2 separate regions of the Homo sapiens genome follow, and region 1 is linked to region 2. Evidence: promoter capture Hi-C in human tissues and cell types (Jung and others, 2019). All regions are on one chromosome and are shown on one strand. The core of a region is centred on a gene start or on the middle of the fragment in contact, and the rest is flanking DNA. Distances in the headings are between cores, read along the strand shown. Region 1 overlaps LOC102723490 (a long non-coding RNA gene). Region 2 holds the start of SMAD9 (SMAD family member 9).

Region 1 (4,559 bases), core at 1,530-4,029, 180 kb before region 2:
TTATATAATGTCATATTAAGGTATTTCTAAATTAGAGTATATGCTCCTTCTGAGCAGAAAAATTTCTTACGCATCTTATACGGGTTGTGCATGCCTAATCTGAAGACCCAAATTCTGAAACGCTCCAAAATCTGAATGTTCTTGGGCACTGACTTGACACCACAAGCAGAAAGTTCCACACATAAGTACTTAGCACAAGCTTTGTTTTATGCACAAAATATTAAACATATCATATAAAATTACCTTCAGGCTATGCATATAAGGTGTATATGAAATGTAAATAAATTTTGTGTTTAGATTTAAGTCCGATCTCCAAGATATTACGTATATGCAAATACTCAAAATCTGAAAATACTGAAATCTGAAACACAGTCACAAGCATTTTAGATAAGGGATACTCAACTTGCACTTAATTTTTCATTCATTACTTCACTTCAGGGATTGTTTACCACATTTGTTCATTCATTTATCTAATTCACTCATTCAGTTAGCATCTATGAAACGTGAATGAGACACTGTTGATATCATTGGGTCCATGGGGCCTAAGGGCTATTTCCATAATGTGTGCTCAACAAATACCCGTGGAGTAAATAACCCACTCTCTTACCCAGTCCTGATTTTCATTATCTGTGAGCTGGAAAGCTAGTTGCTATGAAACAGAACAAAGGTAGCTGCAAAAAGATGTTTTCCGACATCCTGATATAATGACCCTGACTCTGCCTCAGTTAAATACAAATCCCTTCTGTCTAGCTGAGATCTCAGTATATGTGTCCACCAAGTGGCCTCACGGGAAAAGCAGGAACCCTGAGGAATAGAAGTGGTGATATTTGTGCCTGAAAGCGTCTGCCTTTCACTGTGAATGAAGCATGAGGCAGTGTCATCTGCCGAGAGAAAGGAAATGTCATCAGGGAGGTTGGGGCTTAAGGAAGAGGGAAGAATCCCTGGGAAGAAAGCAAGAGGCTGTTCCCTGGAGAATCGCCAAAGGATAGCTTTGAGCATTTCACTGAGATTGGAGACCAAAAGTATGTGGTGACAACGACCTGTGATTTCCTCCAACAACATTCAGTACCTGCTTCAAGGGACAGAAAAGGCCAGTTTTACATTAACCATGGTCAGAACACAGCAGGGTGATACCACTGGCAGAAATGAAGGCCCAGGCAGGAGAACAGTTTGAGAGATGCTCCCTCGTTTCTAGCCAGGGATGGAATAGAAGGAAGCGAAGCAATGAGGGGAATGGGAGCTTGGGAACCAAAGGACTCGCTGGGCATGGTGGGTAAAAGCTGGAGAACCAAAAGGCTGTGGTCACAGGTTATTTTCATATTGACCTTTGCAACTTCAGAAATGAAGTTGTTCTTGGTGAGAATGAAGTTGAGGATGGATAGCTCATGTAGAATAGAAGTAAAAGTGAAACGTTAAGGAGACCAAGTTAAAGTCTGGATGGATTCTTCACCAGAATATTAATACTATCTATAATTATGGCAGGAGTTCTGGAAGCCAGGCCTTCTGTGAATTAGATGGCAAAATCTTCAATAAATGAAGGTTGATAGGATGGGGAGAGTGGGATAGTCACACAGCCATGAAACTCAAAAACATAGAAAAATGCAGGGAATTTTGCCCCTTAGTAAAGTTTAATTGGTTTATAGTTTGGTTCATTCTGTAAAGCAGCTTATCTATTTAATAACTCAGGAAGCATAAGCATGGTTGGTAAATATATCAAAACTATGTAAATTCAGAAATAAATACTTAGAAAAAGCTTACAGTTTTATTCTGTGGTTTTCTAATGAAAGGCAATTTACCAGCCATTATGCATTTCCTATCTCATTTGAAAATAACACAGACTGACATTTTACTAATTCATTATGACTGATCAAAATCATATTTTGTTTTATCTAAGGTTTGGATAGCATTTAAGTGTTGTACTGGGATGCTTGTTTAGAAGGATTATGCCCAAGATTAATTTTTTAAATGACTGGATGTGAACATGTTCTCTTTCTGCACCACTTCTCATTCAACTTAGAATGCAAAGTACAAATCTTATTGCAACCTAACAAAATTCCTTGAGAGTTAAGAGTCTGGTTTCAAAACTGAGAAAATGTCATACAGAGTGTTTTAAACTTAAAGCAAAAGGATAGTGTGTGAATTCAAAGCGATAACGGTAAATGCTAGACATTAGCAAGTCTTTACTTCCTCGTCAAATACATGAGGAAGTGTAATCTATAGAACCTCATTATCTCTAGTTTGTGAGAAAGGCCATGGAGGAAACTACCACCTCCATCATTTATACCCCTTTAAATTCTCAAAAGTATCTCTTGACTTACCTACATAATAATTAGGTTGCTATTGAGACATGTTTGTTCTCAACCAGGCGATGACCAGGGAGGATCAAGGCCGACAGCTATATTCCCAAGGTATAAAGCGCAGGAGGGATGCAGCAAAGAAAGCCCCTTGAATTTAAGTCAGGGCATTTCGGTTGGGGGTGGGCAGCTTTGGGGAGTAATGGGACCAGGAAGAAGGAAGGGTTGTAGGACAGAAGGGTTGGATGGTGACCTGGTTCTGGCTGGTGCTCTCAGGGTTTCCACAGGCCTATCCTAAAGTCAAGGATAGGCCCTTGACCATACCAGTCTTCCCAGGTGATAACATTATACTCCCATGCTTCAGCCACAAGCCCAACCCCACTCCTGCCCTTCTAGGCAAGTTTCCTTCTCATCCATTACATGCCAGGGATGTCACTCTCATGAATAATTTCACAGAATATATTAGTTGTGTCCTATGTATACTAAATGTAAAATGTCTCTTAGGCCTCAACCCCTTTCTATAAATTGGGACAATAACTCCCCACTGCACTTTCTGCTACTCTCCACTGGACAGACAGTTGCAGCTTTTTGTGCAGTGCCAGCCGCATTCATGTAACACCATTGTAAAGGTTGAAGTCAATAGATTTGGCAGTATTAGGTGTCTGGTTACAGGGCTCCTTTCAACACTGGCAAAATGAACATTATTGCCACCAATGATCCCTTCATTGTTTTCAACTACATGGTCCTCATGTTCCAAGTTGATTCCACTATGTCAAGTTCAATGGAATCTTTAAGGATAGGAATGGGACGCTCATCATCAGTGGGAAGCCCATTTCTATCTTCCAGGAAACAGGTCCCACCAACCTCCAATGGGGTGATGTTGGTATGGGGGCCCCTGGTGTCATCACTATCTTCAAGAAGATTGGGGTTCACTTAAAGGTGAAGTCACAAAAGTCCTCATCGCTGCTTCTTCTGCTGATTCCCCCATGTGTGCAAGGAGAGTGAACCATGAGAAACATAAGCATTCCCTCAAGACTATCAGCAACAACACCTGAACCACCAACTGTGCAGCCCTCCTCCCCAAGAACATCCATGGAACTCTCCCAGCAGGGAGGACCTCACTGTTATAAACAATGCCATCAGTGCCACTCACAGACTGTGGATGGTCCTTCTGGCAAACCATGGTGCAGTGGTCATCGTGCTGCCCAGAGCAGCATCCTCACCATCACTGGCACGGCCAAGACTGTCATGAATCTGACTTGCCACCTTGAGAACATTGCCAAGTACAATGACATCAAGAATGTGGTGAAGCAGGTGATGGGGGCTTCCGAAGAGCCTCCTGAGCAACATTGAAGACTAGATTGTCTCCCATGACTCTAATAGTGTAACGCTGTGGATGCAGGGCCTGGCTTCACCCTCAATGACCACTTTGTTAAGCTTTTTAGTATGAATTTGATTATAGTAATCAGGTCTCCCGAGGAGTAAGATAGCCTTGTTTCAAGGCTATTGAAACAAGTCCAATAGCCTTGAGGTACAAAGAGAGAGAGATTCCATCACTGGGAAGTCTTTGCCTTGCCTCCACCCCCCAATACACTGAGAAACTCCCATCCTCAACACAGTTTCCACTCCAAGCCCCTGAAAAACCCTACCTTGTCGTGTACCATCAGGACCATTAATACCATACTCTACACTCAGATGAGGGAAATCTACATGAGCTCCCCACTGAGAATCACTTCTGAGCTCTCTAGTATGGCCTATCCCTTCCTAGTTAATCTCAGGTCTTCTGTCCTCACCACTAACCACTTATCCAACCCAGCACCATATATATCAGCCATACTGGGCTATTTGCTGTATTTTATCAACTCTGCGTTGGTGACTACTGTTGCCCTTGTTCTAATGTTCTTTCTCTCATACTGGCAAGCCTGATAAATGATAGATAATCTTGAAAATGGGGTAGTGGAGAAAGGCCTTGATAATAAGAAGTTAGTAGCATGTAATTACCCACGGATAAGTAAATCACTGATGATTGTTGGTTGTGAAATAGCTAAACACATGATGCTACCTGAGAGACATGACCCAAATGTCACTTTTTCTCCAGTGTTTTCTCGGCCCTATTTCTCCACCTCCCCCAAAAATATCTTCCTGCCAAAATTAATTATTTCTTCCTCTACTTTCGTGAGAAAACCAAGGCCATCATTTATGAGTTCTTTCATTTTCCATTCTCATTTCTTTTTTTAATGGTTCTTCAAATTGTGTTTCTTAATT
Region 2 (4,317 bases), core at 1,589-4,088:
TTTTTTTTTTTTGCTTTAGAATAACTTTTCAACCCACTAGCAACAGTAACCAAGGAAATATAAATCCAACAGCCTAGAATTACAACTATTTGAGAAGATTCATGGTTTCAACGTACTGCTATATTTACTGTTTCATTCTGGACAGTTTCCCGTTTCTTTAACTCCTCTCTAAGTGTCCAAAACAATATACAGAAAGTCTGCACTAAGCTTCGTTAAAGCTTTAAAATTTAGCATAGTATGTCTGGCAAATCAGAAAAACCACATATTTGTCATAACCTTTACCTTCCCTAAAATCAGAGTACATCCTGTGGATAAGGATTATTTCCCACATATTAAAGCAGAACATGATGAAACTGCTGTCCTATTTATTACAGAGGGAATGTCAGATATAAAGTAGTTACCTTAATCCTACGGTGCTCACTTACGAAACACCATCCCTCCAGTTTGGCAATGCATAGTGCACTCTCATTAATCAGAATTAAACTATTTGGAAAACATATTGAGTATTTTCATATTGACATTGAATATTTTCATCTTTATGAAACAATTTCTGGACAGACTTTTTTCCCTCCAACTGACCACATGATTAGTAAAGATAGTGTACCACTTGTTTATTACTTATGGATATCTTTAGTAATGTTTCATTTAAAAAACAAAACAAAACTCTTCTTTCTCATCCATGTCTTGGGCAATCACAGATGCAAGAGTTGACATCTGTGAATATTTTCTGATTACTTACTAACTAGGAATATATAAGTTAAAAAAATTTTTTAAAGGAGAAAAGCCAAATAGTTCATGTTGACTTTGAAAGACTGATGACAATGATGTGGCAATTCTAAAGTACTTAGAGGTTTAACCCAAAATTTGTTTACGTCTTTGATTTTTAGTAAACACTGCACTGATAAACATGAGTTTGTTCAGATCAAGAGTATGTTGGCATTCTCTTAAGCATAGTTTGAAACCAGAGAGCTCAAGCATAAAACAGCTCTGACAAAGATAACCAGTCAAGCATAAAAATGGGAGTTGGTTGTGTCAGAATACATTAAGAGGCCGAAGGCTGTCTGGCAGACAGCTGTCTTGCCATCACTGAAGGTGACTATTACCACTAAAAGTTGTTTTTCGGATACAGTACTTGAAATTGCTGTCATCTTGTATTTAAAATGCTCCTTATTTATAAAGCGTCACATCCTTTTCTTATCTGAAGCCTCCTTCTTGGATAACCACAAACCTAAAAGCAGTCTAAAATTGTGCTGATGCTTTCCTACAAGCACAGGGAAACTCTTATATTGAATCTTTGTCTATTTGGAGTTGAGAATGTCTTTGGCTTTTATTTTAAATGCCTTCTTAAATATAGATCACTATTTTTAAAATGTAAACATCCAAAGGCATTCCCTCACACTTGGAGGAATGCTAAGGCAGGAGACATGCTTGTAGTAGTCACATTTCACTTTCCCAGACGGGTGCCACAAACGTTCCGCTCAGTTACTGCTTAGGAGGCAGCATTATTAAATGCCTCACGACTTAACGGTCAGCCTCCATGCTTCTTGCTAACCTACATTTCCAAAAGATCATCCGAGAAATCTGGCAAGCCACCGAAATGGTACTAGTAAACTGGATCCATCCAAAGCACTCCACAGTGCCCTGTGGGTGTGTTTCTCACTGTAAACTACTGGGTAAAGAATTTACATACAATTTTATCTCCAAACTCGATTTGTATCCTTTGTAGGTTAGTTCTCAGGAGTACCCACTCCAGCCCAGAAATAAGTCAACGTAGTATTTCCAAACTATCACTTCAAATGTCCACGGTCAAGGGCAGGAGGAGGAAGGAATAGTAACGGGAAAACTTGTCAGCGATTAGCCATCCATAAAAATGTTCTCCCAGCGCTCCTCCTTCCGATCACAAAGCTGGCGTCAGGCAGTCTCCTGTATCTGCTTCCCACCTCGCCCCCTCCCCTCTGCGGAGAGCTGGCACCGAGGGGCGGGCCAAGGAAAAGACAAACACCCCGGCTCCGACACAGTCCAAGCGCGAGCCCGGAGACACTTCAACAACATTCCTAACTTTTTTTCTCAGTTCGCATGCCTCAAAGGTAAACAAAGCAAAAAGCCTACGAAACAGAAGGCAAGTGAGGCCAATTCGGCGCTGGCGAGTTTAAAAGTGGCCCCCAAAGAGTCACAATGACGACCCCCGCCGCCCCCTCTGTCCGCTGTCCCCTATCTCCAGCTACAGCAAGCGACCCCTCAGGCGCCTATCCTGGTCCCTGCCCACGCCCCGGGCCCCAGCCCCGACCCGACCGCCGCCCCCGCCGCGGGTCGAACATCCCCTGACAGGTCCCGGGGCCCGCGGCGCGGGCGGATGCAGGCGCGAGGAAGGCGAGCTGCGCCGCGGCCAACTCCCCAGAGCAGTCCCCTCCGGCCCCGCGCCCACCCCACCCCACCCCACTCCACCCCAGACAGGCTCCACCAAAAAACCCGGGAACAACGACCGCCAAAAGCCAAGCCTCACGCCGAGGAGCCTCCCAGGCTGCCCCGAGGACGAACAACTTCGCCCTCCACTCAATGCGCTCACACGCACGCACACAAGCAGCGCGCGGCCGAGGAGGGCACGTCTTACCTGTCCCCGCCGTGCCACTCATCCCTCCCCCACCCAGGTCCGGCGCCCCCAACCCCGCCCCCGCCGTGGTCCCCCGGCCGCCCGCTCCGAGCGCCGCGCACTCACTGCCTGGCTGCGCGCGCCCAGCGCCTGCAGGGCCCGGCGGCGGCGGCGGGGACCGAGACAGCGGCTGCAGCAGCGGCGGCGGCGGCGGCGGCGGCGGCGGCCCCAGCCGGCGTCAGTCAGACTGGAGCCGCGAAGCCTCATCGCCCGTATTAGTGCGCCGACCTGGAAAGCGGCCAGGGAGCCCTGCTTGCGGCCCGCCCCCGCCCGCCGCCGCGCGCTCTGGCCGCTCCGGGAGCCGCAGAGGAGGGGGCTGCGCGGGCCCGGCGGGGGGCGGGAGCGAGACCGGCCCCACGGCCACGTGCGCGGAAACTCGCGGCGCGGGGGTGGCGGGGTAGTACTCCTCGCAGCGGCCTGCGGCTCGGTTCCCGCCTCTTCCCCACCCCCAGCCCCGCGCTGCCCTCTCGGTCCCCCTGCGCGACCCCAGGCTCGGCCCCTGCCCGGCCTGCCGGGGTGGCCCGGGGGTGGGGTGGGAGCCCTTTGTCTGCGTGGGTCGCCTCGCGTCTCTCTCTCCCACCCCACCTCTGAGATTTCTTGCCAGCACCTGGAGCCCGAAACCAGAAGAGTTGTCAGCCCAACAAGAATATAGGATCACCGGCCCATCAGTCTGGAGACCCTTCTGAGCTGCTGTTCCTCACATGTTTCTGGGCCCTGATAGTGACTCTCACTTGCCCTGTTTGTTCCTGATTTGCTTTTCGGAGTAAGGGGATCCTGTCCCCATGGACAGTGACAGAGCAACTGGGCCGCAATGGCATAGGCAGAAGAAAATCTAATCACTCTGGGGGTGAGTGGTGGTTAAAACGACTCATGTAATTATGTGGATTGTAATTTCCTTACACATATTTATTTGCTTAACAACCCAGCATGTGAGATATATTATCTAATCTAATAAAAGATACAAACTTATGGGCACACAGCAATGTTACTGTACAACTTTCTCGTCTCACGGCCTGGCTGTCCCCCAGGTAGCCTGCCTCTTAAAGTCACTGTGGACTCCTGGAACCCACTCAGAAACGCCACTTAGGAAGAACCACCTCTGATTCCCCATCAGCCCGTAGTTCCTCACAGAAAAGGCATTTGCTGCAGGGGTGAACGTGGAATAAAGCCACAGGGCAGTTTTCAGCTTGCTCCTGTGTGCAGGAAAGTCATACCTCCAGTTGGCCCCGATGGCGGCTCCGAAATGTAAAGCAAGGCCTTAAATTTAACTGCTTTTTCTAGTTCTCAAAGCACTGCACTTTCTTCATGGCAGATGCTATTTTTGCATTATTATACCGTTGTAGTTGAACGGTGATTTGTTTAAAACAACATTTGCAGCAGAACCTTAAATACCATGCCTTAACCTCAAAGTCTTCTTTCTACACTGGCCCAGATACCTCTGCACCCGGCTATGTGTTGGGTTTGAGATTGTCCTGGGTGAGAAACACCAGGAAACAGCGGGACCGGTAAGGGCTACAGATTATATATTAAGGATTAGGCTGGATGTGGACTTTATTGCCAGTAAACTAATTAGGTCCTCAGAATTGATACCTTGTGGCTCAAGTTTTTAAAAATTAAATTAAGAAAAGAAATGGCCCAATCACTATCTCAGTTTCCTTCTCGTATAT

The links. The method cuts DNA at HindIII sites, captures the fragments that hold promoters and counts their contacts. A contact is called where the count stands out against the background at its distance.
Region 1: a fragment that was not itself captured here is called in contact with the fragment with the promoter of SMAD9 in region 2 in 2 of the 25 tissues and cell types used here (mesendoderm cells and spleen).

Annotation. Positions count from the first base shown.
Region 1 is chr13:36,737,124-36,741,682 of GRCh38, forward strand. All of the region lies in intron 3 of LOC102723490 (a long non-coding RNA gene), which reads right to left. It also overlaps the pseudogene GAPDHP34. Among named protein-coding and RNA genes, the nearest start is that of SERTM1, 65 kb to the left of the region's middle. The HindIII fragment of the contact is 6,034 bases long and covers 1-4,559 here.
Region 2 is chr13:36,917,400-36,921,716 of GRCh38, forward strand. It overlaps SMAD9 (SMAD family member 9), which reads right to left and starts at 2,839. Exons shown (of 7, transcript NM_001127217.3): 1 at 2,717-2,839. RefSeq lists silencers at 2,750-2,819, 2,930-2,979. The HindIII fragment of the contact is 20,741 bases long and covers 1-4,317 here.